Regions from separate parts of the Homo sapiens genome. Here regions 2, 3, 4, 5 and 6 are each linked to region 1. Evidence: promoter capture Hi-C in 16 types of primary human blood cells and fetal thymus (Javierre and others, 2016). All regions are on one chromosome and are shown on one strand. Each heading gives the region's core, a stretch centred on a gene start or on the middle of the fragment in contact. The rest is flanking DNA. Distances are from core to core; before and after follow the strand shown.

Region 1 (4,915 bases), core at 1,547-4,046:
CCGGCTCTACTAAAAACACAAAAATCAGCCAGATGTGGTGGTGTGCGCCTGTAATCCTAGCTACTCGGGAGGCTAAGGCAGGAGAATCACTTGAACTGGGGAGTCGGGGGTTGCAGTGAGCCGGGATCGTGCCACTGCACTCCAGCCTGGCAACAGAGAGAGACTCCATCTCAAAAAAAATAATAATAATAATAATAAAAGAAAATATGGTACATGTACACAATGTAGTATTATTCAGCCACAAAAAAGAATGAGATCCTGTGTGCAACAACATGGATGAAACTAAAGGCCATTATGCTAAGTTAAACAAGCTAGGCACAGAAAGACAAATTTCACATGTTCTCACTTATTTGTGGTAGCTAAAAATTAAAACAACTGAACTCATGAAGAGAGTAGAATGATGGTTACCACTGGCTGGGAAAGGCAGTTGGAGGAGATAGGAGTAGGGATGGTTAATGGGTACAAAAATACACTTAGAAAAAGATCTAGTATTTGATAGATAGGATGACTATAGTCAACAATAATTTATTTTATGTTTTAAAATAACTAAAAAAGTATAACTGGATTGTTCGTAACACAAAGATAAATGCTTGAGGTGATGGATACCACATTTACTCTGATGTGATTATTATGCATTGTATGCCTGTATCAAAGTACCTCATGTATCCCATAAATATATACACCTACTATGTACCCACAAAATTAGAAAAAAAAAAAACTTTAGCTGGGTGCTGTGGCTCACCCTTGCAATTCCAGCACTTTTGGAGGCTGAAGCAGGAGGACTGCCTGAGCCCAGGAGGTCAAGGCTGTAGTGGGCTATTTTTGCACACTGCACTCCAGCCTGGGTGACAGAACAAGACCCTGTCTATTTAAAATAATAATAATAATTTTTAAAAAATGGACCTGAGAAGACTGAATAGTTGTCTAATAATCTGATATAGTCAAATAAGAATACCCTAAAAGTACCAGCAAAGTTGTAGAACTAGCCTGACTCAAAATAGTCATATTCCTTACAAGTTTTGAGTACTTAATAATTTTTAGATAGTTTTACAAAATAACCATGACAATTACAACTCAATTTCACCCCAAGTTTCCACATGAAAAGAAAGTCAGAAGTTTAGAAGTGTACCTTGGCAATACTGTGAAGAATGAACCAGAGACAAGCAATGTTCTTACCTTACCTAACTGCTGGTGAATGGCAAAGTGGCAGCACTGGCACACTGCCCAATATTTATGTAACGGAGTACTTTCAGTTTGTTTTCCCAAGTAGTGCATCTTCAGATCTGCCTTCCAGACAAACTAAAAGCAGAAGCTTGAATGAATACTGTATTGAAATGTTTTCTCATACTGACTGTGATAAAGCATATATGCTTTATAGCAGTCCTATAGGACTACTATCCTTACCCACTCTAGGAAGATCTGAGAACAAGAAAAGCGATTACTAGAAAGCAAAGTTATTTCCATGAAGAACACTTCAGAATAAATCAATGGAAACCAGAGCACATGATGTTTTCACAATTACCTGGTCGCTTTTCCTTTGGGTTCTCCAATGGAATGGGTTTCTTAGACACAGCATCTTTCACAGCTTGCCTTAGTTTCCTCTGTTCTTTTCGGTACTTCTTGAGAGTGCTTTGTTGTTTAAACTGCTTATTTTTTAGCTTGTTTTCAAGTTTGACTTTACTAGTTTTTATTAACTTGCGAAAGCTTGGGATCTGTTTTTTATTTCTTCTCTAGAAAATAACAGAAAGAATACTGCATACCCAGAAACTTATTTTTTAAATCAGGTTAAAGAGAACTGATTACAAATTTCATTAGACCAATTCCACAATTTCAATGTCCCACAGCCACAGACTTGCATATAAAAGCTAAAACCAAACGATGGCTTTAATCCTACAGAAGAGCGCTACAGCATCAGTTATTCAATCCCAATTCACAGCAATTCAAAGGGTTCTACGATCCCCAAACAGGTTAAGAACCACTGATCTAGTAGTGGTAAGTGGCTATTCAAGGCTAGTTTAACACACCTGTAGTTTAACACATTCAAAGCAAAATGCTGGCTGTCTTTAATAAAACTTACATTTATCTACGATTTTATTACTTACAAAGTGCTCCAACAAATCACCTCTAACAGCCTAGTTGAGTACTGACTGCTGTTATCCTCACATTACTGATGAAGCTGCCAAAAGACCCATAAACTAAGGAGGGCAAAACTGAATTCGGATCTTTGGATTCCACTTCTCTTGCTGGTGACTCATTCAGAAATCCCAAAGTTAGTCCTGAACCCCAGGACTACCTCTTATTTTCTGGGAGAACCAGGACAAATCACTTGCTTTTCTATCTCTTTACCCTTCATGGGTACCGTGACTCACATTATAAACTCGCTGAGGGTAGGACCCTGCTTCTCATTTGTGAAAAACGAGTTCGAAAGACGGTCTTGAAAAATTCCTTCAAAGTATGAAATCCCACGCATGCAAAACTCCGTGCCTGTCTCTTCGTGATACTCTGAAGTGGTGCGCGCACACAGTGGGTAACCAAGGATGAGCTCGGTGTAAGGAATGGAAAGCCCCCAGTCTAAACCACCGCCCCCTAGACACGGGTGAAAACCTGCCTAAAAGCTAACTCAGGCAGTGACTCTATCACCCGAAGGGGCCCTAGGCCGCGGCGACCGGGCTTTTGAGGACACTTACCGCCTTCATCCTTAGGCCTTAAATGAATGCCGGCCAGACAAGTTCACCAGAAGCAGGGTTACTACAGAAATCCCGGGGAATGACACACGTGCCGAAGTCCCTACACTACCAGAGCCGGAAACGGCCTTCAGTCCCTCCCAATCCTCCGCCGCCGGAAGTGAGGGCGGGACTTCCGTAGACAGGTTCGGGCTCGCGCCCTCTCGCGGTGACTGTCTCGCGGCCCTGGACCGGTTGCCCCCCGGCGTGCGCGCGCGGACTGGCACGAGGGAAGCCCCGAGGGCGTCGGTGCCAAAGGCGGGAAGCCGGGCGGGAGGGGCGCATTTTGCAAGGTTATCTGAGTATGATTCTTTGACTCTCGCCCTATTTATTTCTTTTAAAACCTTGGGGAAATCGGGCTCCTCCTCTCAGAATGAGAGGACTTGGTTTTTTCGGTCACCTCATTGCATTTTGTGCCTCTCCTCACGTTGCTTATCTCATGCTGTTATAGATACTGATTTTCGTAGTCTTTTTCCTCCATACAGTCCTGAGGGCAGAAAGAAGCTTATTTTTTGTGTGTAATGCCTGCCCCTCGACGGACATTCTGGCCGTGTTTGTAGCATGGCGAATGATTTCTCATCAGCCTTGGTCACTTAAAAGTCTGTGATTCTTAGTGTTTTATTTTGCATTTTTTTTTTGCTTTAATTTTTAACCATTAGCTGATAAAGAACTGTATCCATGGCTGGGTGCGGTGGTTCACGCTTGTAATCCCAGCACTTAGGGAGGCAGAGGCGGGTGGATCACCTGAGTTCCAGGAGTTCGAGACCAGCCTGGCCAACATGGTGAAACCCTGTCTCTACTAAAAATACAAAAATCAGCCAGACATGGTGGCGTGCGCCTGTAATCCTAGCTACTCGGGAGGCTGAGGCAGGAGAATCGCTTGAACCCAGGAGGCAGAGGTTGCAGTGAGTCGAGATCACACCACTGCACTCCAGCCTGGGTGACAGAGCAAGACTGTCTAAAAAATAAAAATAAAAATAAAAAACTGTATCTGCATTTCAGTATCTTACAACTTTGGGTAAATTCTGTCTGCTTAGTAATTTCACCAAAGTCGTTTTTTGTTTTTGTTTTTTGAGACGGAGTCTTGCTCTGGCGCCCAGGCTGGAGTGCAGTGGCGCAATCTGGGCTCATTGCAAGCTCTGCCTTCTGGGTTCACGCCATTCTCCTGCCTCAGCCTCCCGAGTAACTGGAACTACAGGCGCCCGCCACCACGCCCAGCTAATTTTTTTTGTATTTTTAGTAGAGACGGGGTTTCACCGTGTTAGCCAGGATGGTCTCGATCTCCTGACCTCGTGATTCGCCCACCTTGGCCTCCCAAAGTGCTGGGATAACAGGCATGAGCCACCGCGCCCCGCCTAAAGTCGTTCATTTTTACAGGAAGTTTTATGGATTGCAAGAATAAGAGTATCAAAGTGCTTGTCTCTCAAAGACTTTTTTTTCTCAATAAATTTAAGCATTCCACTTCAAGTTTTTTGTGGGTTTTTTTGAGTCTATGATTTTTGAGCATGGCCCTGACACAGAGTCTGGCCTCGCAGTCCTGAGCAGGTGGGAAAACCCAGTAGTGCGGCTCAAAGGGTTCTGAGCCCCTTGAATAGTGTTGCTCTTAGAGAGACTGAGGGAAAAAAGTACCAATTTCCTGATCCCACCACAAAGACCAAGAGGTCCATCTGGCACTCTTCTTTCAACCTCCCTTCCAACTTCTTCCTTGCTCTGTCTCCTTCCACACAGTGTCAGAAACAGCAGAGCCTGTCCCGCTGGAGTATTACTTCATCAAACAAGTGGAAAACATCAGCCTGTGCTCTTCCCAAGTGCCTGAATTCCCTCCCAAGCATATCAACATATCTACAGTCACTCCCATCCTTTTAGCCTTCCTTCCAGTCTCTCCAAGGATGAGGCATCCCCATTCCAGTTCAAAACCAACTCCTCCCAGCTTCATCAGATTCTTGTATCATTAATTATCCCTTCTTTCCTGTGTTCTTTCCCTCTCTAATAGATCCTTCCCCTCAGCTTATAAACATATTCAAATCTCTTCCATTTTTAAGATTTGTTCTAATAAACTTATCTCCCTTTAATTGCTCTTTTATGTGCCTCTTTTCCTACTTGTCCCTACTTCCAGAAAAAAGTATTCTTTTAGCGTCTCCACTTTCTCTTCTCTATTGTCATAGCCCAATCCTGTGCTAGTATTTTCTTTT
Region 2 (4,915 bases), core at 668-3,167, 950 kb before region 1:
CCATGATGGAAGAAGCAAAGGAGCTCCCTTGAGCCCATTTTGATCACGGCACTAATCCCATGCATGAGGGCTCTGGCCCCGTGACCTAATCACCTCCCTAAAGGCCTCACTGCCTAATATCATCACGTTCAGGGTTAGGATTTCAATGTGTGAATTGTGGAGGGACACAACCATTCAGACCACTGCAATTGGAAGGGGCTTCTTCTGGAGCACAGGACACTTCCTGGAACCAGCTATGGGGGGTGTGGGGATGGGGCACTGGAGCAGTCCATGGGCAGCACAGCAGGCAGGGGTCCCAAAGTGAGGAAGAGGCAGCCACAAGGGAAAAGGGGGCCTCCACATGCACTGCTTTGCAATTTAGCCCAGGGTGGGCCCTGCTCCTCATCATCCATTCATTCATGCTTCGCCCATCCTAGCCTGGCTTCTGTTCTTCAAAAGTCAATCACCTCTCTTTGCCAAGCTCCGTGCCCTTTTCTGTATCTCCATATTGGATCTTCCACAGCCTTGGACACCAGTGCTCATATACATATTTTTAGATCATTGCAGCTCTCCTCCCCCGATCTGCTTTTTCAGGTTCTTCTGTGGGCCCCTGTTTTTGTCTCCTACTCACTGAGTGTGACTCCCTACTCTGTCCTCTGATCCTTTGACTCAACACTCTGTAGATCCTCACTTCACACTTCCTTCAAGTAGCCATGGACCCACAGAATGTTGTCCTAGAAGGGACCTTAGAGATCCTTGATCCAACCTACCCTTCACCCCATTTTACAGACAGAAAAACTGAGGTCCAGAAAGCTAAGGCAACTTGCCTGTGGTTAAGTTATTAGAAGCTGAGCTAAAACCAGGACCAAGTTTTCACACTGCCTCTCTGGTATAAAACTGGGTTTAAAACCAGGCTGTAGGTGAAGGACATGTTATGCTCCTAGTACCTCAACATCTTTTTCAGGCTACTGGGAAAACCTCATGGAAGTCAAAGATAAGGAATCTTTGTCCTCTGCAAGATGATCTGGACCTCCTCTTGCCTATTCTTGAAGAGACTTCAAAAGAAGGGCTTACCTGCTGTCTCTCTTAGGGCACCTGGATCCAAGCTCTTGGAATCTTCTTCATCCTACTCTCTACCAGGTAAGTTCCTCTCCTTCTTAAGTTTCAGATGAAACTTACTGTCTTCCAACATGCCCTCCCCACCTCTTCCAGATGGAGTTAGTCCCGCTCTCTCCTACCCGCCACACATTGTTCTTTCTAGTCCTCACCACATAGTCTTGCACCTGCTTGTCAACCCATAGGCTTCCCCTACTCCCAGGCATTTCAGAAGCAAGGAGCTTGCCTTTGCTTCTTTGTTTCTGCCCCATGCCTTACAGAACTCATTACACAAAGTATATAGAAAGTGCTTGATAAATGTGGAATGAGTAAACAAATGGGAAGGGGAACAGGATCCCAGGCACAAATGTGCCTTCACATTTGGAAAAACTACTGAACAACTCTCAGGAAAGAACACCCAGATGGCTGAAGGGGTGCTCCTCCCAACCTTGGCACCAGCCTCGGGGAAGCACTGGGGGCCAGGCGCTTCCCCTCGGTAAACCTGTCCTGGACCGAGCAATGGCTGGGGCTGACAGCTGTTGGGTTCCTCCAAGCAGCGAAGACGAACTTCCTTCCATCATCCTGGGCCTAAGTGGTACTTCCTCCTTGCCATAATTATAGCATTTTAGGCTGGTGATTTGTACTTCCTCCTTGCCATAATTACAGCATTTTAGGCTGGTGATTGTTTATGGCAGTAAGCAGGAGAAAAAGTCGGGGTCAATCATACCCCTTTGCAATGCTGGACTCTGGACAAGTACTTATTACATTCTCAGTGGATGCTCTAGAATCAGCCTGCAGATAACAAAGAACGTCTTCTGCTATTCAGACTTTAGGCTAAAGGGATGGGTCAGAGGAAACCAGCCTAAGCCATGGTGACAGCCAGCCTCTGTGCCTTGCAGCAGAAGAATATTCAAGCAGGAAACCTCCCCTTTATGTGGCAGGAAGCTGCAGAGGATTAAACAATGGTACGGGCTCCACAAAGAATGCTATGGGTTCCACAAAGAATGAGGGGGCCCCTATGGCACTGTTAAACACACCCTGATGTGCAAGCTGTGTCATGAGTGAAATGCTAGCAGTTGTGCTGGCAGGCCCTGTTCGTGAGACCCAGGCCTGAATGTGATCCACAGCCAAGTGGATCTACAAAGAGCAACTCTTTCACAACCACAGAGGGCCACACCAAGTCAGGAATCACCCACTGAACAGGAAGCTGCTGGTTGTATTAGCTTCTGAAGGCTGTCGCAGGAAGTCCCACAAACTGGGTGACTTAAAACAATAGAAATGTATTCTCTGGCTAGGCGCAGGGGCTCACACCTCTAATCCCAGTACTTTGGGAGGCCGAAGCAGGAGGATCGCTTGAGCCCAAGAGTTTGAGACCAGCCTGGGCAACATAGGGAGACCCCCCATCTCTACAAAAAAAATTTAAAAACTAGCCGGGTGTGGTGGTGCACACCTGTAGTCTGAGCTATTCGGGAGGCTAAGATGGGAGGACCATCTGAGCCCAGGAGGTCGAGGCTGCAGTGAGCCATGATCATGCCCTTGCACTCTGTCCTGGGTGACAGAGCAAGGAAAGAAAAAGAAAGGTAAGAAAAAGAAAAGAAAAGAAAGAAATGTATTCCCCGACAGTTCCAAACCTTACAAGTATAAAATCAAGATGTTGGCAGAGACGTTCTCTCTCTGAAGCCTCGAGGGAAAAATCCTTCCTGTCTCTTCCTAGCCAGTGGCTCCCGGCAATCCTGAGCATGCCCTGCCTGTGGCTGCATAACTCCAGTCTCTGCCTCTGTGTGGTCACACAGCCTTTCTCCTTCTGTGTCCTCCCGTCTTCTCATAAGAACAAGTGGGCCAGGTTTGGCGGCTCACACCTGTAAACCCAGCACTTTGGGAGGCTGAGGCGGGTGGATCACCTGAGGCCAGGAGTTCAAGACCAGCCTGGTCAACATGGCAAAGCCCCGTTTCTACTAAAAATATTAAAAAATTAGCCAGGTGTGGTGGCGTGCACCTGTGGTCCCAGCTACTTGGGAGGCTGAGGCAGGAGAATCGCTTGAACCTGGAAGGCAGAGGTTGCAGTGAGCTGAGATCATGCCCCTGCACTCCAGCCTGGGCATCAGAGAGAGCCTCTGTCTCAAAAAACAAAACAAACAAACAAGAAACTACAGTCACTGAATTTAGTGTGACTTTATCTTAACTAATTACATCTGCAAAGACCCTGTTTCCAAATAAGGTCATATTCTGAGGTTCCATATAGACATGCATTTTAGAGGGCCACTATTCAGTCCACTAGAGAGGCCATCTTTTTTGTTGTTTTTTGTGGTTTTGTGTTTTTGTTTGTTTGTTTGTTTGTTTTTTTGAGGTGGAGTCTCACTGTGTCATCCAGGCTGGAGTGTAGTGGTACAATTTCAGCTCACTGCAGCCTCTGCTTCCCAGGTTCAAGTGATTCTCCTACCTCAGCCTCCTGAGTAGCTGGGATTACAGGCACCTGCCACCACGCCCTGCTAATTTTTGTATTTTTAGTAGAGACGGGGTTTCGCCATGTTGGCCAGGCTGGCCTCGAACTCCTGACCTCAAGTGATCCACCCTCCTCGGCCTCCCAAAGTGCTGGGATTATAAGCGTGAGCCACCGCGCCTGGCTGAGAGGCCATCTTTTGTATCTTTCCAATTTGCTTCCTCTCTTACTCCAGCCCACAAGCAGCCCCAATCTAATGAGCACACTGCCTTCCCTGCACCCCACTTCCTCCATGTCTTTGCTTTACCCCTACCCCAGGTTAGATCCTGCCACCTAACACTGCAACCACCCCACTGCATGCCCCTCGATCCCTTTCCCCCTCTCACTTCACTGTGCTTACCTGGTTTATTCAACCCTCCACTGACTTCACCTCTGCACCCAGCCAGCTGAACTTGGCTGGGAAGCACACACATCTCACTGGACTGATCTCACTTTAATTTCCTGATCACAAACTGTAAGTGTCCTCACAGGGCTGCCTGGCCATCTTACCACATTTCCAAGATATCTATCCCAAAACTTTCCTGAATCCTGGTCTGAGATGGCCACTAATTAACCAGCACAGTCAAATCACTTTACCTTTCTGAACGGCCACCTGTTTTGCATCTTGAAAGCTTCCAACACCCTTTCTATCTTTCTCATTGTCCACTAATGACCTGGCTTCTTATTTCATTGAGAAAATTGGCAATTAGAAGATAATTTCCACATCTTTCCAACTCCAAATCAATCATCTACCTGTATCTGTTGCCTTCTCTCCTGCTACAATTAGTCACTGAACTATCTGTGCTCCCTGACTTGAAGCCAACTCTTCCGCATTTGCACAGATCCTATCTCCTGTTGCTACTTAAGGAGTTTTGCCTCTTTATACGTTCATCGGTTTCCCCCTTTCTACTGGATCATTCCCATCAAAATATAAACACGCTGAAATATCACCCAGAATATTAAAAAACAAAACTTTCATTGACTCCACGGTGCCCCCTACAGTTACTGCTCCATTTTTCCTGCCCCTCTTGGGAGCAAACTCCTCAGAAGAATCATTTTTACTCACATTCTTCACTCTGTCTCTGATTCTCATGCTTCTTCCAGCCAGCCCTCTGCCCTCCTAGTCCACCAAAACTGCTCTTGTCTAGGCCACTAAAGACTTTCATGTTGCAAAATCCAACGGTCCAGCCTCAGGTCTCTTCTTACTCAAACTTTCTGCAGCATTTGTTCATTTAATCCTTGAAACACTTTCTGCTCTTTGATTCAGCCTATTTGAACCAAAGCGCAGCTGCTCATCCTGGCATTCGCAAACAGAAGTAATCACCAAAGAAACTTCTCTCGGCCGGGCGTCGTGGCTCATGC
Region 3 (4,915 bases), core at 889-3,388, 700 kb before region 1:
TCCACCTCGACATGCCTGCTCTTCTTCCTCTGTTCTTTATCGATGAGGTCACCCAAGCTAGAAACCTGGGGTCCTGCTTGAGCTTATCTCCCTCATTTCAAAATCATTTATATCAGCCTCGCTAGTACCTCAGTTCTGACTTTTATCAGAACTATGGTAGCAGCCTCCTAATAGATGCTCACATCAACTCCACAAGTCATCCTCTGACTTGCTGCCAGGATGTCTCTACACAGAGCTCAACTCAGCCATTCTACTCCTTAAAAGGCTCATACTCCCCATTGCCAGAGGTTTCCAACTTCTTTCCCAAAGAAGTAAAGTCTATTTTCTCCCAACAAAACTTGCCCAAAGATCACTTTATAAAAGAGAAAAAAGCAAAGCTACTTTAGCTTTCATCTCTCTTGGTCTCCACCTTCTTGGGCCCTAGAGCACTTCAGGGGAACCCTAGACTCCAAGAGTAAACAGCACTGGCCTAGAGAATCAAATTCAAGCTTCCTGGCAAAATTTACATGGCCTGTCACTGCCTGTCCTCAACTCACACTCCCAGCATCAATTCCCATCACCTTCTCCCATGTCATTGCTTCACACTCTAAGCCTGCACTCACAGAAGCTTTGTACGTTCCATTTTATCTCGGCAAATATTCTTCCCCTCCTCTTTTCCTGGAAAATTACTCTTGTTCTTCACAATACAACATAAATGCCACCTCCTTCCTTCATGAAACTTATCTTTACTCCCTTCTCCCTGACCCATAGCACTTACACTATTATTGTTACAGCACTTACCACACTGTATACATGACTGTCTTCGCTAGACTCTGAACATTTTAAAGAAAAAGATCACCCCTTATTCCTCTTGGCAAGCCTGGCTCATGCCAATGTAAAGGCAGCTAGCAGGTGTTCAATGAACTTGATAAATGTTTTTTTTTAGTGATATAAATTAATGCTGGAATATCCTCACACTGTAATTAGGTAAAGCTACATACTAATGGGTGTATGTCACATGTGCATTCACAGACATATGCTAGATGCTAACAGATAGACAGGACAAAGAACAACCGGCGAAGTGTTAGAACTTGAAGCATAATATTTAATCCTCCTATTTCTCCTTTTCGTTGGTGAGAAGTGGTGGCAATCGTAAATGGGAGATAGATACTCCTAGAATAAGCCTAGAACACTGAAGTAGGAAGAAAAAGCTCCCCTTTCGCATTTCAATATAATCTGTAAATGACCTCTTTTTAAAAGTTAAGAGCATACGGTTTGATAGCACCTCAAACATTGACTGTAAACTCGATCCTTAAATGTCACTTGTACTAATAAAATGCAAGTTCTCTATTCATAAGTGGATTTAGTGAACCAAGCCTTTCTCATTTGCAGGTAGCACTTATGGTTGCAAATGAATTTTGGGAACAAGGAGATCTGGAGAGAACAGTGTTGCAGCAACAACCCATTGTAAGACCTTGACATAAAAATGTATTACTTATTAAAAGTTATCAGGACAGGCCGGGCGCGGTGGCTCACACCTGTAATCCCAGCACTTTGGGAGGCTGAGGTGGGCAGATCACGAGGTCAAAAGATCGAGACCATCCTGACCAACATGGTGTAACCCCGTTTCTACTAAAAATACAAAAATTAGCTGGTCATGGTGGTGCATGCCTGTAGTCCCAGCCACTCGGGAGGCTGAGACAGGAGAATCACTTAAACTCAGAAGGCGAAGGCTGCAGTGAGCCGAGATTGTGGCACTGCACCCAGACTGGAGACAGAGTGAGACTCTGCCTCAAAAAAAAAAAAAAAAAAAAAAAAGTTATCAGGACAAATCAGTCTGTTTTGTTCATACATCTTAGAAACCTGTCTTAAAGGATTTATTTCTCTTTCTAGCCTATGATGGACAGAAACAAAAGAGATGAATTACCTAAACTTCAAGTTGGATTTATTGATTTTGTTTGTACTTTTGTATATAAGGTAAGTAAGCAAATTATTTGAATTAAATACATAAACATTTGGATGAGAAATTTTCTTTCAAACTGTCACCAAAATTTAGAAGTCACCCATACGGAAAGCCATTGGGGTATCACTGTTTCTCCAAAGCAGTTTGAGGTTTTACCCTAATCTCATTCAGGGCTGGAATAAAAGGAGGGAACTCAGATGTGAGCGAACTGAACACTTCCTTAGGCAGGCAGTAAAGACAGCACGTGTCTCTTTCCCAAACTTCATAGGCCCGTGGTTAAACTTATCCTAGCAGCTCTGAGTGCTGTAACAATTCCTTACAGCTCACTCTCTGCATATGAAAGATCCTGAAAATTAACTGTATGATTTATGTAGTTTCTGACCTAAAATTCCTTTTAGGAGTTCTCACGGTTTCACAAAGAAATCACACCTATGCTGAGTGGTCTTCAGAATAACAGAGTAGAATGGAAATCACTAGCTGATGAGTATGATGCAAAGATGAAGGTCATTGAAGAGGAGGCAAAAAAGCAAGAAGGAGGAGCCGAAAAAGGTTAGATGGGCTCTGTTTTTGCTCCCTGTAATGTAGCCAGAAGCTAGGCTGAGCTTAATGGCATGTGACAAAGCCATAAAGAGTCACCACAAACAGAAAACCTGCTTTACTGGTGCAGACTGATCATTTTAACAGGCCGATTAGTGGTTTTCAGGTCCCCCTGGCCCTGCCACAGACAACATCTTATGTATAACTCCAGATCGAATTGACCGGTCCAGTTGAAGTAGAGGTTGGAGCTAGGCTTCTTCATCTTGCTAGAAGGTGGCTCCTCTGCAGAACACTGGGTGCTTAGGGATAATATGTAAACTACAGAATCTGGGGGATTAGAGTTAGGTGAGAAAAAAGTTTTTGTCCCAACATTATGCATTAGCTGTGAGACCTTGGGCAGCTTGCTTAACCTCGCTGAGTTTAATATTCTTCTCCATGTAATGAGGTGGTTTTACAGATCTTCAGCTTAAGGAAGCCCTACATGTAGAGTAAGGCTGAAATTGCCGGTCTCCCAAATGTCTCATTGGGAGATGTTTTTCTGGCATGAGATTCCTGTGCCATTTTTTTTCTGGCATGAAATTTCTATTCCTAAAGTCACTTTGTCAAGTTTAATGTTGTTTTTGGATTCTTAAAATGCTTAGGATTAACTATTAGTTCATCAGATGGCCCAAACATCATTTTGAAAGTGGAATGCTAATTTCTGTCTTGAAAGTTTATCACTCTGAAGGTTTTGTAAGCAATTGTTATTGCTTAACAAAGAAATCATCTCTATGTGGAAAGGCCCTGACATGTTCCTTTTAGGTGGCTCTATTGCATTTAGTGAAATTTTAAATAATTCATAGGAGAAAATATTTTTCTTAACAAAGTTAAGGATGTCCTTCAGAATAAAAGCAGGAGTTTTTGACTCCTTGATATCCATTCACTTATGTATTTATCAGATGTCTTCTCTGTATAAAGCCCGGTGTTAGGCAGGCCCTGGGGAAAGATGGGATCCTTTATCTTGAACAATTTACCATTTGGTGGGGGAACTAAACATTGTGAACCAATGCACAATTAACGATCTCGAAGAAGGCACTAGTGTGCACATGGGCCATGGAGAAGGCTTTCCTGAAGAATGCTTACGCTAACCACAGAAAGCAGGCATTGGGGAGGAAGAGTAAGAAAATATGTACAAAGGCTTGGAGTAGGAATAAGCTTGGTGCAATTGAAAAATTTTTAAGCTGATATAGCTGGAGTCTAGAGAGTAAAGAGTGCGAAGTACATATGAAGCTGGTAGTGCAGGTAGCTGCCAGATACTGTATTGCCTTGAAGGTGGGCTAAAAATGTTCATGGGTCATTTGAGAGATTTAAGGTAAGATATGATTTGCATTTCAAAACAATAAGTGATTTTTACCAAGCAAGTGAAAAGTGAGGGTATTTCTTAGTACTATTAGATTTAACCTTTATCTCAACTTTATTATGAAGAGATGATCAGGTCCTTTAAGTGACATTGGATATGGATCTGTATTTTATTTGCACAAAAATTTACTTCTGAGTTTTTTTGCTACTACATAGAGAATTCTTTGTGGACTAAGATCATTATTTTCTATCACCAGGCATGGAGCTTTGTGCATCAAGCTCAGATTTCCAGACTGCATTGTCTCAGTGAGAAACTAAGATGTTAACTGGCCAACCATTGATCAGATTCTGTTTTTTATTTATTTAATTTATTTTTTTGAGACGGAGTCTCACTCACTCTGTCGCCCAGGCTGGAGTGCAATGGCATGATCTCAGTTCATTGCAACCTGTGCCTCCCAGATTCAAGCGATTCTCCCACCTCAGCCTCCTGAGTAGCTGGGATTACAGGCACATGCCACCACACTCAGCTAATTTTTATATTTTTAGTAGAGACAGGGTTTCACCATATTGACCAGGCTGGTCTTGCACTCCTAATCTCAAGGGATCCACCCGCCTCAGCCTCCCAAAGTGCTGGGATTACAGGCAGGAGCCACTGCACCTAACCCAGATTTTATTTTTTGAATGGACCAACTCTGAATATTAATTCAAGTTTTTACATGGTCAAACCCACAGTACTTGCTAGGTTAAAATGACTAATTAGTCTACAAAGTTGACACTACTATCATGGGAATGTTAGAATAAAAACACTGTATATCCACTAACTCCTAATAATATTGCTTTCCTTGATTTTACTAGCTGCTGAAGATTCAGGAGGTGGTGATGACAAAAAGTCCAAAACATGTTTAATGTTGTAATATTATCTAACTGGTCTAAACTTCAAATATCATTTTACCTTTGAAGAAAACCAGAAAACATTCAAAAGAACTTCAACAAATCATCACGTAACAGGATCTTCAGAAAAACTACCCTGTGACTATGAAGAAAATATATATTGCTAGCCCAAAAATCCCAGGGGCAAAATAAAGTTCAACAAAAGTG
Region 4 (4,915 bases), core at 1,220-3,719, 680 kb before region 1:
GTAATAGCCAGCACAAAACAAAAAATAATGAATACCTGCAAAAAAAATCTCATATTGCTAAAAAGAAAACCTCACAGATAATTAGCTGCAATATAAGCAATAATTTATTATCTATAGAGATGTTCAACATTTGAAAGCAGTTTACAAATAAATACTTGCTTTTTACAGTATCTTTTCTAAAGTCATATATGCAGGTAAGTATTAGTTCTCAGAAACTGATAAGAACACAACACAATTATGTCATAAAACAAAAATTCTCAGCTCTACAATGGTCATCCAGTGAGAGAAAGAGAGAGAGAAAGGCACTGAAGATCGGTCAGTGTAATTTAAAAAAAAAATCACCACGATACAGAGCTTCCTGCAATAAGACCTCAGGGAAAATATTTCTGAAGGATGATAAAGTAAAAAAGGGCAGGTGACAGATGGACAGTAACAATTCCTCCAATGTTCCTGGATAGGAGGCCTCGTAACCCAAAGTTTTTGGCCCCTTTAGACCAGATGAAGAGTATAAGAACTACAGGGTAAGGAAACAGGAAATGTATTCTTTCCTGTCATCCTCTAATGAGGAACATGATACCTGCTTCCCAATATCCAAAGGTCCATAGGTAAAAAAGACGTTAGGCTTAATTTGGAGGCCCAAGAACATAATTAGAACCAAAGGGAGGAAGCTGTAGATTTTGGCTGAATGTTAAGAGAAACGTGCTAGCAAATACAACTACCTGAAAATGTAAAGCTTTATTTTTGATAGTAGTGGGTTCCTTTTCCCTGGAAATGTTGAACCAATGCAGAACAATCACATAATATACAACAGTGCCTCTCTCAAACTTTAGTGCATATGATTCGCCCTGGGAACTTGTTAGTAGATCTGGAAGGGTCTGAGATTGTGAGTTGCTAACAAGTTCCTAAATGCTGCCCAGAGGACTTTACTTTGAAAAGCAAAATTAAAGAATATCCTTTCAGTCATGATTCCAGGACTGATCTCTGAAGTTCCTTTCAACTTTCAGAAAATGTGGTTGAATTCACTGATTCACTCACCTACACTTATTGAATGCCTCCTATGGGAGCAAGCACTATTAGGAATTAGAGATAACGAAGTAAACATGTCACACAGTCCCTTCCCTTACAGAAAATAAACAATTTATTCCAAGGATACTATGTATTTCTAAAGGAGAAGTGACAGGTATTATTGGAATATGTAAGAGGAACATAATCTTATTTGGAGAAGTGAGGAGAAGGGTGTCAGGAAGGGCCTTTCCAAGGAATTGAGCTAAGCAGAAACCTGAAGGATGACGTAGCTTTTGGGAAAGGGGTGATGGTGAGACAGATAAGATTCTGAACATTTTGCCAAGACAGTCTACCTAAATATCTTGTTCTCCTCATACCTGCCAAAGCAGACTGGTCCTTAAAGTCAGCTACTGATCTTTCTTATTTTTTCTCTCTATCCATTCATTCAGCTATCTAGTTCATCCATCTATTACTTATTTAACATTTTCTAAGACGGTAACCTAAAGCTATGAGAGTTGATGGGATTACACTGGGAGTACAGAGAGAAACTAGAGAAATCTAGGTAAGAGCCCCGAGGAACTCTAACAGCTAAATGTAAGACTGAGAAGGAACTTCAGTTAAAAGCAGCTAAGGAGGTCGGGTGTGATGACTCATGCTGGTAATCCCAGCACTTTGGGGGGCCAAGGTGAGAGAATTGCTTGAGGCCAGGAGTTTGAGACCAGTCTGGGAAACAGCAAGACCCTGTCTCTGCAACAACAACAACAACAAAATTAGCTGAGTATGGTAGTGCAGGCCTGTAGTCCCAGTTACCTGGGAGGCTGAGAAAGGAGGATCACATGGGCCTCCGAGGTTAAGCCTGCTGCAGTGAGCCAAGATCATGCCACTGTATTCCAGCACTCCAGCCTGGGGCCTGGGTGACAGAACAAGACCCTGTCTTACAAAAAAAAAAAAGCATTAGCTAAAGAGAGGCCAGAAAGATAGAAATAAAATTAAAGGAAGTTGTCAACAGTCCAAACGCAGCTGAGATGTTAAGCGTTTATTAATTACTCTTCAAGTCTGGTCCAAATTAAGGTGGTCTGGCAAGAAAGAATCAAATCAATGATAAAGCTAATTCTAGATGATCCCAGATAAGATATTAAAGAGTTCCACATGGTTTTCCTAAAAGTTTGCTAAAATTTTGTTATTTTCTGTTATATACCATAGAAGTTGGGGGTAAAAAAGCTATATTTCTAGAGACTTTGCTTTCAAAGGCATTCTAAATAGAGAATACATAAGAAAGAGATGTCTCAATTCCACCTTGCTTTGGTCTTCTATCCCTGAAGAATCTTCAAAGTCCTTTACTGATTATTATTTATGCTGAACATGAGCTAGTGGGGTGCTGGGGATATAGCAATGAACAAAGCAGGCAGAATCTCTGCCTCTTTGGCTTTTACATCGTCATATGTGTAATAATGGAAAGTGTCAGGAGCCATGACAGCATTACAAATGAGAGTCCTAATTTAGATTCAAGGTGGGGGATGAAATCAGGAAAGGATCCTTGGAAATGACATTTAAGAGCTTAGACCTGAAGGATGAGCTGGGATAGAACTGAGAGTTTTAGGAAGAGAAGACACAGCATCCATGTAACCCCTAAAATTGAAAGAGGCTTGACATTTTCCAGAAACTGAAAGGCTACATGGGGGGAGTGTGAACGTGAGGTACAGAGTGGTAAGAAACAAGCCTTGTATAGTACACAAGTTCTGGATCACAGAGAACCTTTTAGCTTTGTCCAGGATTTTGCTTATCAGCCTAAAAACAACAGGAAATCACTGATTTATGGAGAATGGATTAAGAGGAGGGAAGGTGGGATGGCAAGACAGAGGCGGAACCCGTAAGGAGAATATAACAGTAGCCTATAAGAGAAAATATAGTGGTTTGTAGTAGGGTGGAGAGAACTTGAGAAATATATACTCTGGGGGTAAAATTCACAGGACTTGGTGACAAATTAAACATAAATAATAAGGGGAAAGAAAGTATCAAGGATAATCCCCAGATTTCTGATATTAGTTTTTAGGTCAACATAGGTGTCATCTACTGACAGAACACTAAGGGAAAAATGTCTATAAGGAAGATCATGTGCATATGTACGCATAATACGAAGGGTCCAACCTTAGCCCTGAACCTGAGCATTCATCTACCTGATCTACTTTGATTGTACTGAGTAACATTTTATAAAGTAGAGACTAGTTCTTTCATTTGGAATACGCAGTGATTAACATGGTATCACAGTTGTGATAAGAATGAACATATAATACAATGAGGGCAACAAATTTCTTAAGTGACATATTAAATGTTTTACTAGCATATAAGGATAAATAAGTTTTTAAAACTCAAAACATATTTTTAACATTTATTGGTTAAAATTTACCTTAGAGTGGAAAATAATTAAGATAGAGACAAAAAAGGCATTCTGCTACAAATGCCATCTCTCAATAAGCAATAAAATAACAATATCTTCCTCTCACCATCTATCAATTTTACGAAGTCTAAAGGTTGGTGACACCATATACTTGAAGCTATGGGAGTAGACAGTATCACAAGGGCACACAGATTTAAACTCTGCTACATAATGAATATATTACCATGTGCAAGAAGAAGTAAATGCTTCTAAGCATGCAACATAGCTAATGATCTTCATAGCTGGAGCAAGAGAGCCCTCTCCTGTCCAAATATTATATTAACATTGGCTTGAATCTAATTCAATTACCTATCTAGATTAGTCTGATTCACTATAAATTACAGCCGATTGACTCTACTTTATTATGGGCTAAAAAAAGCAACTAGAAGTAACCTTCATAATAGCTAATATGTGCCAAGTACTATGCAAACTGCTTAATGAATTATCTCGTTTCAACTTCTGAACAATTCTAAAAGGAATCAAGACCATTTTACACATGAAGAAATTGAGTCTTAGCGAGCTTAAGGACTGCTAAAGAAAAAGCAGGCAGTTCTAAGTATAGGTGCACAGCACCATGCTAGGCTCTGAGAACACAGATATATGACAATCTTTCTCATTTCTAGAAACTCATAAACTAGTAAAAAAAGTCACACAGGCCATTATAAATAAAATCAGTGTTACAATTTTATATTGATTTATAGATTATAGACTGTTTAAAGGCACTGATCAAAGTCCCTTTCACATTCTTATTTGAGTTTCCACAATAAGCTTGACCAGTATGAAGGCCAGGTATGCACCTCACCCCTATACACATAAGAAAAATAAAGCAGTTCAGTGACTGATGCAAAGTAACAAGTCTGTAGGTGACAAAGCCAGGAATTAGAAAACTGTTGGCAATATTATACTATCTGCCAAAAATGAACTAAAATTAACCCTTAATTAATTTAGAGGAGTTCTTAAAACTCCTGTAAGTCACTTTAAGTTCATATCTAAATTCTCAGCCAGTTTCCTCTCAACTACCATAAAATGAAATTCTCAATGCATTCACCAATTAGATGAATGAAATATGGCAGATTATATTTCATGCTCACAAATGTGAGTAGATGCCTTATCTTAATTTCCTTTTACCTTTATCTTTTTTCTTGGAGGCCTCTTCTGCAGAAGATAATCTGGATTTTTTATGTGATGACTCTTCACAGTCTTTTTTGGTTTTATCTTTTCTTTTTTTTGACTTGATTTCTTTTCTCCTTTGTGTTAAACAATATAAAATTAAAGTTAACTTTTCCAACTGACCTTTTCAAAAATAACCATCATATGAACAAAAAACCAAAATCAGTTAAAATACTTATTTTTTAAATGTGATTTATATAATAAGGAACGTTAAGTGAGACTGTAAATATTTTATGCTTGTATATTAATTAAAATCATTCTATAAGATAATGAAGTCTTAACACTGACACAAATAATTACTTT
Region 5 (4,915 bases), core at 1,127-3,626, 660 kb before region 1:
ATTGTGGGCAGATTCCTATTCACAGGCCATCTAGCCATCTAAAACTTTCATTCGCTTTTAAATAAGAGACATACCTTTCAGGAAATGCATCAACATTTTTCACCCTTAATTATCATTAGGTGAACAAAGAAGGCTACTCTTTGATCTTTTCACTGAAAAACCAGGCCTAAAAGCTGCAGTGACTGCTTACAAGGTTTAGCAATCCTTCACTTTTGATTCAGAGTAGTAATAATCACTGTGTGTTTATCACCAACTTTGTTCTAGACATTGTGTTAAATACTTTACAAACAACACTTCTAATTCTGCAAGTTAGAAAGTTATCTTCATTTAGGAATGAAGTAATCAAAGTTAAGTAAATCTATTTACAAATCCAGTAAGTGGCTAATCTGCTGTACTTGATTCCTGCGCCCACAATTTCAATTACTCCAAATTTCCTCTCTGGAATATGATTTACTATATTCCAGGAGAATTACAGTATTTGTGAACAGTACATCATCAATTGATGAAAATTTTCCTGTAATCTTTTTCAATATATGTAGAGATTTCCATTTTCTTTTGAGTTTCTTTAAGGTAAACCACCTTGCCCTTTGGATTAGTCAGCTTTCTCTTGTTTCATTTTATTTATCCAGTTATTTTTGGAGAGTCTCGCTCTATTGCTCAGGCTGGAGTGCTGTGGCGCCTTGATGGCTCACATCCTCAACCTCCTGGGCTCAATCAATCCTCCCACCTCAGCCTCTCCAAGTAGCTGAGACTACAGGAGTGCATAATCACACCTGGCAAACTTAAAAAAATTTTTTTTTTGTAGATAAGGGGTTTCGCCATGTTGCCCACGCCGGTCTCAAACTCCTGGGCTTGAGCAATCCGTCCACCTCAGCATCCCAAAATGCTGGGACTTCATTTTAGAACTGAAATTCTTAGAAATGCTGGAAGACCTCAGTTGCCACTCAATTGTATTGGAAGAAGCTCCTAGTTCCAGCTTTGCACTGAATTTGGAACACACACTAAGAAGGAAGGATGGACTATTTGATGTCATACATAACTAATTTACATGGCTGGAAGGAACAGTCCAGGTTAAATGATATATCAAATTGTTAAAACTAATATAACGACAGCAAGTGCAGCTGGAAAAAGAGGAAAGAACTCTCTAAACTTCATTGCATTGGATCTAGGGTAAACGACATGTTTCTAGTCCTGGCTACCTTGAATAAGTCATTTCATCTCCCTGGACTTCATCTATTAAATAAGATAGCTACATGAAATAATCTTTAAGTTGTTTAAATCTTTAAATAACCTTTAAAGTCTGTAATTCCATTTTCAAACATAGGTGTGTGGGTATATACCTCTCTTCTCTGCCCCACTAAAATCCTAGATAGGAAGATGCTAGTTAAGGTTGGAGATGAAGGTTTGAAAGCCCGAGTTCCAACTCTACCCTCCCTTACATCTGTTATTGCCTTACACACCTGGATTTTACACCCTTTTTTAGGTCAACTCCAGCTGTCTTACCACATCTGTTCAAGCCATATTGTCCTCTCACTCTTTGTCCTATGTCCTCACGTTCTTTACATCTTGATGGGGGACAGCTGTAGTGTGTTTAGAGATATATTCTAGGATCAGCCTACTAGATTTCACTGCTTGGCTCTGCACTTTCCATTTGTCTTTCTTTGGGCCTGTTCCTTAACCTCTCCAAGCCTCAGTGTCCTCATTTATAAAAAGAGGCTAGTAAGATGGCTGACCTCATACGAATGGAGATTAAAAGAGTTGCCTCATCTAAAGGGTTTTAACGGTGTCTTGTACAGTGAAACCCAGTAAATGTTACATCATCATCATCATCTTTTCCCTCGCCCCAGGACACGACTTCCTATTCTTGCTCCCACTCTCCCATTTCTTTATTCGCTGGCCGCTCCATCCGACCCATACCTATCTTAACTCACTGGTTGAACTAAAAAGCTCTCACTCACTTCAGGCCTACGAATCAACTGACAAGAGCGGGGAGAAACTCAAAAACGGAGATGCCAGGTGTCTCCAGAATCTGTCATCCAAAAAAAAAAAAACCAAACCAAAACAAAAAAAAACCCGACGATCAGCTAGTACTATATGAAAAACAAGTTTTGAGGTCCTTCTCCCTGATGCCAAATATACCCACAGCCCTCCTCACACACCCTTTCCCTTCCTCCCTGTGTGCCAAGTTCGCCCCCGGAGTCGTCGTTTCCTTCTTTCCCGGCAGCTGCAGCGACGACCCACGGCCTGAGAGAGCCGCTGCAGCACAGGTCCCGTGCGCCCTGCCGCACAGCCTCGCCACAACCACCACCGCCGCCGCCGCCGCCGCCGCCGCCCGCAACCCGCCTCTCCCTACGGGTCCCGACTGGGCACCACTTCCGGTCCGACACGGCCACGTGTTACATCTAAATGGCACCGTCCCCCGAGTGCGCCGACCTTGTGCTACAGCCAGAACAGCTCCGGGAAACAAGGGCAGCGGGAGAAACGGCCCGGAAAGGGACGAAGAGGCTTCCAGCTTTCGCCAAGTCGCGGCTCCCAGTTTTTCCCTGGGCCTCCTTCCTTTCCCCTCTAGGGAATCCGGCATCTAGTACCGCTGGCACTGCTTGCTGCTTAGCCCACGCCTCTCATTTGAAAATATATTTTGTTTTACCGTGCCTATCACCTGCCGTCCTCTCTCTAGTAACCTTAGTAACGCCTCCTCGGAGGATCCTCTCAGAGCAGCTCATCAGCGCTTCAGATCAGCCTCTCCCTCCTTCCCCCAGTAAAACAGTTCTCATAATTAGAACAAAAATATCTCTCCATCGTTTCGCCACCCACACAATAGATACCATTCCAAAAGCAGTGCTGATGGCAGAAGAGCTCATCGAATTTGTGAGGAAAGAAAGAATAGGAGGAGAGATTTCTCAGGGTTGAGGATTCTCTGCCGACAAGCGACCTGGCACATGCGAAAAGGGATCCAAAATAGAATCTTAAAAAGAAGAAGAAAAAAGGCAGGAAAAGTTGGATTATTTTAAGCGCCACTAGGTTCTTCCTGTGCTTTGCGTTTTCTACATCACGACGCCCCACTCTTTCCACTCTAGTTGTTTGGTTCATGTCTTGTCTCTCGCTGGCATTAGCAGCTATTCATTTTTTGCTTCCTCCTCAGTACCCAAAACGGTGCCTTGGAAATCACAAGTGCTAATTAAATATTTGTTGAATTGAACTGGCACGCTTCTGGCGTTTACAGTGGGCCCTTTTTAGAGAAAACCTTGGCACTTAATGCACAGTCATTTTACATCTTTTGCCCTAAACAGTAGATAACGATATCCTTATCAGTTCAAGTCTCTAACCCTGACAATAAATTATAGATACATTCTGCTTTATCCATTGCACTGAATGTGATCTTAAAAGGCTATAAGATAAATTAAATTATTGTAAATTAACTTATTCCAAAATGCAATCAGATTATACTTCAATAAAAACTTTTACTAAAAAAAGTGAAAGCAATAGGAAGCCTTACAATTTGACGTTATAGTATATGGAATTATTTTGTCAAGCAGTTTCTTTTTTGGTAAATATATTAAATATATAATTATTTTATTGTTAATAAAACTAAACAGACCTATACCTCATATCCAATTTCCTTTCTATCCATATTTGACATTTATTAGCATTTTTCTACCATCCCTAGCATCTTCTTGTTTGTTGCTTCATTTTACTCTTCCAACAACCCTGTGCTGCTGTGTTATTAGCCTCATTTTACACATAAGGAAGAGAGGCACAGAACCTAAAGCCACAAACCTGGTGAGGGTCGAGAACTGGGTAGTACTTGTGTCTGTCTCTCTATAAGACCCAGTTTCTCTCTCTCTCTTTCTCTCTTTTCTCTCTCTCTCTCTGTCTCTCTCTCCCCCACTTCATGGATTGTGTGGGAAGTAGCTTCTGGTTCCAACATTTCTAAGAATTTCAGATCTGTTGCTACCAGTCCATTCAGGCAAAGATTTCCATTTTTTACTTTGAGACAGCAGTTACTGAAAAAGAGTAAATAGAAAATATATATTAGGCATAGATTGCATGATCTGAACTAGAAATAATACAGGATAGAAAACCCACCTGCTTAGGAAATCTCAAGTTAACAATTATAGCTCAACAACAATAAAAAACACAAACATTTATTCAGTGCCTACTCTGGGCAGGACACTGCCCTAGACATCAGGGTTACAGGTATGTAACAGCAACTCCTTATCCTTGAAGGTTGACTAGTAAGACAGACAATGTGTGGAATAACTACAACAATATATTCTATCATATACCAAGTGTCTAGTACATGCATGAACCTGTTGTTCCTAATTTATAAAATATGTTATTTCAATGGATATGAAAATTTAAATGTGCACCAATGCTATGTAACTCAAAGCAACAAAATACTATATTAAGTATGTGGTCAGGATGAGGGAAGTTGGGTGATGATGGTGGTGATAATACCAAGTAATAATTCTGATATAAACTATGACTGTGCATTCTTTTTTATTCAAGACCGAGTCTCACTCTGTCACCCAGGCTGGAGTGTAGTGGCGTGATCTCAGCTCACTCCAACCCCTGCCTCCTGGGTTCGAGCAATTCTCCTGTCTCAGCCTCCCGAGTAGCTGGGACTAGAGGCGCACACTACGCCCGGCTAATTTTTGTATTTTTTTACTAGAGATGGGGTTTCACCATGTTGGTCAGGCTGGTCTCGAACTCCTGACCTCAGGTGATCCACCCACCTTGGTCTCCCAAAGTGCTGGACTTACAGGCGTAAGCCACCGCGCCCAACAAATGTGCATTCTTTCTTTTCTTTTCTTTTTTTTTTTTTTGAGACAGGGTCTCACTTCATCACCCAGGCTGAAGTATAGTGGTGCCATCTCAGCTCAACCTCCACCTCCCGGGTTCAAGCCATTCTCCT
Region 6 (4,915 bases), core at 1,064-3,563, 540 kb before region 1:
AGGGAGTAATTAGGAGGAGGTTTCACTCGCTGACGCTGAAATGGCAAAATCCAAGCCACAGGCATAGACGGATGGCCAGATTTAGCACATAAAAATACAGGGTGCTCTGTTAAATTTGAATGTCAGACAAACATGAACAATATTTTAGTTTGCGCTTGCTTCATGACAACCTTAGTAAGGCAGTACATACTGATTCAATTTCTTCCTCTTGGTCTCTCGCCTCTGCATTTTTAAAAAAGAAAGGAGATGACATTCAACCAAGGTAGATAGTAAATAAATAAATAAGTAAGTAAATAAATGAAAGGGAAGGAAGGAGAAAAGAAGAGAGGCAGGTAGGGAGAGAAGGAGGAAGGCTCTTGGCCCCAAATTATCATTTCCTCTAATTCTCCATTTACAAAACTCCATTCCTTCTTGCCCCCTCACCACCCGCCTCTTTTCACCATCCTAGGGACACTTTGTAACTATTCCCTACAATATGTCTTCAAAACATTAAATCAGAACCAAGCCACACCAATGAAAGCAAACCTCAACTCTCTGGTTCCAAAAACCACCGGGGTCTCTTCCTGGACACTAAAGATATATTCTGACCCCCTCCTCCTGCCTCCCGTGAGCCTCCACCTCGGCAGCATGACTTGCTGCTGCTAGATCTGTACCTGCCAGCTCACCTCACCTCTTAACCCCCTGCTTGCATTTTCTTCAGGTTCTTGTCTTTGATGCACAGTTCTTAAAGTATCTCCTAATTAAGTGCTCGGAAACAGGTGCCAATAAATCTAGTTACAGTAATATTTCAAAGAGGTGTTTTACAAAATAAATCGATGTTTATGGTTCAGTATGTGGTGTATGGTAATGGTGTTCTTTAATGGATTTTCCTCACACAGCCCATCTCAGCTCCAGCTGAGGCTGGATGCTCCCAGCCCCCAGCCCCTAGCCCCAGTTCCCCGTCCTAACTGAACACTACTACAGAAAAGTCCAGAAAGAAGACAGCAGTTCACTTATCATCTTGAAACTTCAATCAGATCATGCCATTCTGCTTAAAACCCTCCATTGCTCTCCTATAACATTTAGAATAAGATACAGAATGTCCACAATGGCCTCTAAAGTCTGTGGGGTTTTCCTCTACCCACAGCATCCCACCCTATTCCCTGCTCACTGCTATCTAGCCCCATGAAAACCCTTTCTGTTCATGGAAGATGCGAAACCTTTTTCTGCCTCAGACTCTTGTACTTGTTTTCCCTTCTGCCTGGAATGCTTCCCCATGCCCAGTTCTTTGGATGGAGAGGTCATTCTAATGCTTCAGGACCCAGTTCTAAGGTGTTAAGAATATTCTATATCCTGGAATTTGTGCACCTTATTGTATGGATGTCACATCTCGGTAAAAGGTAAAATGTAATGTATTACTAATTCACTACTAGATCACCCTTTTGATTTCCTTCCTGACAATGATCACAAACCATAATTATCATATTAACTTGTTTACTTGTTTACTGTCTGTCTTCCACTTAGATCAGGAGGTGGCAAACTATGCCACCATCCAAGTCTAGCCACCACTTATTTTTATAAACAAAGTTTCATTGGTACCTAGCCACACCCATCCATTTACTGTTGTCTGTGGCTGCTTTTACTAAGCTACAGTGGCAGAACTGAGTAATTGTAACACAGATTGTATAGCTTCACAAAACCTAAGATGCTTACTGTCTAGCCCTTTCCAAAAAAAAAAAAACAGCTTGAAACCCCTGCCATGGACTGTAAGTTTCATGAAGGCAAGAACTGTGTCAGTCTTCTCCACCTGTATTTCAGGATCCAAAACAGTGCCTGGCACAAACTCAGCAACCCCTCAATAAGTGTTGGCTCCTGTCCGGCCCCTACCACTGGCTCCCCTGGCGCAGTCTCCTAGCTTGCCCTTTCCCTCATCTGATCCTGGCGCCTGGCCATTTGCCTGCAGAGTGTAGGTTCTTGCCATCTGCCAGTCCCTTGTAGCCCTGCCTCCTTGCTCGATGTCACCAAACTGGTGCTTCTTGTGCCCTGATGCTGAAAACCCATCTAATCACAACCAATAATCTTCTAACACAAAAGCTTCCTCTGCTGTTTGTGTGTTTTAGAAGCAATCGTTTTGTAGTATGCCAATCCATTCTCTATAATCATGAAAGATGCCTGTCTTAAAATGTCCTTCTATCATTCAGCTTTTTGTTAATATATTTATTTAGGTATCTTCCTATTATAAAAGCGATTCATATACATAACACACAATTTTGAAAATAAAGAAAAACTAAGAGACAACCGTTTTTAGCACTGATGTGGTTTCTTTTTATTAGTCTTTCTATGCTATTTTTTAATGCATGCTTGTATAAAACAACAAAAAATGGCTACAAATTTTCTCCCTTGTATTATAATAAGCATTTTTATATCATATATTCTTTGTAAAGTATTATTTTAGTAGCTGCATAATATTATATTAAATGGAAATATTAATATTTATTTATTGTTGGGAAATATTTATAATATATTCAGATCTTTACCATAGAAAGTAATACAGCCATGAACATCTTTGTGTATGAAGCTTTTTTCCCCCATTTTTTGGATTACTTCCTCTAGGAAGAGTTCCAGAAACAGAATTACTGGATCAAGAACCATTGTTTTGAGTTCAGATAAATACTGGCATCCTCACTTTTAAAAGGCCTGAAAACTTCTTAATAAAGATATCAGAGCAAATGCATTCATAATCCTCTTTCCTGTGCTCCAAGTCCATAGGAATGACAGGTTAGATATTAAATACATATTTCTATGCTTCTCTAAAAATGCAAGAGGAAAATGTCACTGGCTCAAAAAAGGAGTAAAACTTAAACAATAAGCAAAGTATAAAACCACAGGGACAAACAGTGAGACTGGAACTAGGCAAACAAGACTGGAGTCCAGAGGAAGGACTGAATGTAGCCCTTGGTAGTGGGGAGCTACCCAAGAACAGTGGATGACAGAACTTCATCCGTACATCTAGAACAGTGGCAGAAATACACCACTTGCTCAGGGTCAGTGTCCAAAGCAGAGTCCTATATTAGTCCATTCTCACACTGCTAGAAAGAACTATTTGAGACTTGGTTATTTATGAAGAAAAGGAGTTTAATTGACTCACGGTTCAACAGGCTCTACAGTTTCACATGGCCAGGGGGCCTCAGGAAACTTACAATCATGGCAGAAGGTGAAGGAGAAGCATATCTTAGCAAGGCAGAGTAGAAGGAGAGACAGAATGAGGGGGAAAGTGCCACACACTTTTAAACCATCGGATCTCATGAGAACTCATTCGTTATCACAAGAACAGCAAGGGGGAAATCCACCTCCGTGATCCAATCACCTCCCACCAGTCTCCTCCCCTGACATGTGAGGATTGCAATTTGACATAAGATTTGGGTGAGACATGGAGCCAAACCATATCAGTGCTATTCCTGGTGCTGGAGAGGAAACACTTTACCTTCACAGAGTCAGTGCCTGGGGGCCTACGAATCTAAACCATCAAAAGATAGATTGACAAGAGAAAAGAAGAGTTGATTTAAGCATGCAATGTGCATACACACAGGAGTGCTCAGTGATGCACTCAGTGATTGTGCTCACTGTTAGAATTCAGGGCTTATGTACCTAACATAGTAGGGGAAGGAAAAAGGAGAAAAGGCTCCTATGAGAAGAACAAATAGGTTTCCTTAGGAAAGACAATTGGATTTTTATGAGAATAAATGGGAGATAAGAAAGTTTGTGACATTTTATTTACATAGGTGCTAGTGGCCTTTCTCTCTTCTTCACAGCTAGGACTCTCCCTAGGAGAAGGGATTTATGGTAGTCTCATTTCCCAAAGTTGCTGTGTTTCATCAGATTAGGAAAGCTCCAAGAAAGTCTTTTTCTGCATCTGTTGAGTCTCAAATGTCTTCAGCTTAAAATAATCTTTACAACAACTCTGTAATCGCCTGATGAGTTCGTCCCATCCTCTGCACAGACAAAACCAATTCACCGAGACCATGGTATTGCAGTAGTTTAATTGATGTGAGGCTGGCCACAGGGGAAATAGAGTTAGTACTCAAATCAGTCTCCCCAAAGGCTCACGGGTTAGGGTTTTTCAAGGATAGTTTGGTGGGCAGGGGATAGAGAATGGGTGCTGCTGATTGGTTGGCAATGCAATCATAGGGGTGTGGAAAATGGTCACCATCTGTGCACTGAGTCCACCTCTTGGTGGGAGAGGAGGGCACAGAAATAGTTGAGTTATGAGTCATGAGTCTGGGTGGCATCAGTCTGAAAAACATCTCAAAAGACCAATCTTAAGTTCTACAATAGTGATATTATCTATATGAGCAATTAGGGAAGTCATAAATCTTGTGACCTCTGGCCACACGATTCCTGAGAAGTAAGGGATCATAAAAACTATACCGACATTTTAGCAGAATTCAGGGCCCTCCCATAATCCTAATCTTATGGCCTTTCATTAGTCTTATGAAAGTAGTTTCAGCCCGCCCCCTGGCCCCAACAAGGAGAGGATTCGTTTCAGGGAGAAACTATTATCATCCTTGCTTCCAAGTTAAACTATAAATTTTAATTTGGTTAAAAGTAAGAATATGTTAGCTTGTCCTATGCCCAGGAATGAGTGAAGACAGCCAACCGGTGAGGCTAGAAGCAAGATGGAGTCAGCCATATCAGATTTCTCTTACTGTCATAATCTTTGCAAAGGTGGTTTCAACTCAGGGATTCTGAGTGAGTCTTTACACCAGTCTGTACCATGTGCATTGTGGAGAATTTTCACCCCAGAAATGAGCAGCTGTGAGTTGAGCTGCAAACATATGGCATAGGTTTAGTCTAGTCAACCTATGAGATCAAGACTAAGGGAGCCAAGAAACTGCCTCACAGGCAAGGGAAGTGTGGGAGAAAATTCTCACGCAAT

What was found. Contacts are between HindIII fragments. The CHiCAGO score rates a contact against its expected background, and 5 or more counts as called.
Region 2: a fragment that was not itself captured here is called in contact with the fragment with the promoter of NOC3L in region 1 in 1 of 17 cell types (non-activated CD4 T cells); the score reaches 5.2 in non-activated CD4 T cells.
Region 3: a fragment that was not itself captured here is called in contact with the fragment with the promoter of NOC3L in region 1 in 1 of 17 cell types (non-activated CD4 T cells); the score reaches 6.0 in non-activated CD4 T cells.
Region 4: a fragment that was not itself captured here is called in contact with the fragment with the promoter of NOC3L in region 1 in 1 of 17 cell types (naive CD8 T cells); the score reaches 5.1 in naive CD8 T cells.
Region 5: the fragment with the promoter of FRA10AC1 here is called in contact with the fragment with the promoter of NOC3L in region 1 in 8 of 17 cell types (naive CD8 T cells, total CD4 T cells, naive CD4 T cells and 5 more); the score reaches 9.5 in naive CD8 T cells.
Region 6: a fragment that was not itself captured here is called in contact with the fragment with the promoter of NOC3L in region 1 in 3 of 17 cell types (megakaryocytes, M2 macrophages and M1 macrophages); the score reaches 6.6 in megakaryocytes.

What each region holds. Positions count from the first base shown.
Region 1 is chr10:94,360,143-94,365,057 of GRCh38, forward strand. NOC3L (NOC3 like DNA replication regulator) reads right to left here and starts at 2,797. Exons shown (of 21, transcript NM_022451.11): 1 at 2,688-2,797; 2 at 1,523-1,730. The coding sequence starts at 2,696. RefSeq lists an enhancer at 2,471-2,730 and a silencer at 2,871-3,000. The HindIII fragment of the contact is 1,523 bases long and covers 1,703-3,225 here.
Region 2 is chr10:93,411,344-93,416,258 of GRCh38, forward strand. The region is part of intron 5 of MYOF (myoferlin); the gene reads right to left. Among named protein-coding and RNA genes, the nearest start is that of MYOF, 69 kb to the right of the region's middle. The HindIII fragment of the contact is 4,532 bases long and covers 1-4,183 here.
Region 3 is chr10:93,660,688-93,665,602 of GRCh38, forward strand. PDE6C (phosphodiesterase 6C) reads left to right here. Exons shown (of 22, transcript NM_006204.4): 19 at 1,372-1,446; 20 at 1,873-1,956; 21 at 2,341-2,491; 22 at 4,673-4,915. The coding sequence ends at 4,731. Among named protein-coding and RNA genes, the nearest start is that of FRA10AC1, 39 kb to the right of the region's middle. The HindIII fragment of the contact is 3,066 bases long and covers 606-3,671 here.
Region 4 is chr10:93,676,910-93,681,824 of GRCh38, forward strand. FRA10AC1 (FRA10A associated CGG repeat 1) reads right to left here. Exons shown (of 14, transcript NM_145246.5): 11 at 4,571-4,689. Among named protein-coding and RNA genes, the nearest start is that of FRA10AC1, 23 kb to the right of the region's middle. The HindIII fragment of the contact is 3,477 bases long and covers 732-4,208 here.
Region 5 is chr10:93,700,216-93,705,130 of GRCh38, forward strand. FRA10AC1 (FRA10A associated CGG repeat 1) reads right to left here and starts at 2,377. Exons shown (of 14, transcript NM_145246.5): 1 at 2,160-2,377. RefSeq lists an enhancer at 2,366-2,665. The HindIII fragment of the contact is 26,065 bases long and covers 1-4,915 here.
Region 6 is chr10:93,816,371-93,821,285 of GRCh38, forward strand. No RefSeq gene overlaps it. Among named protein-coding and RNA genes, the nearest start is that of LGI1, 61 kb to the left of the region's middle. The HindIII fragment of the contact is 484 bases long and covers 2,072-2,555 here.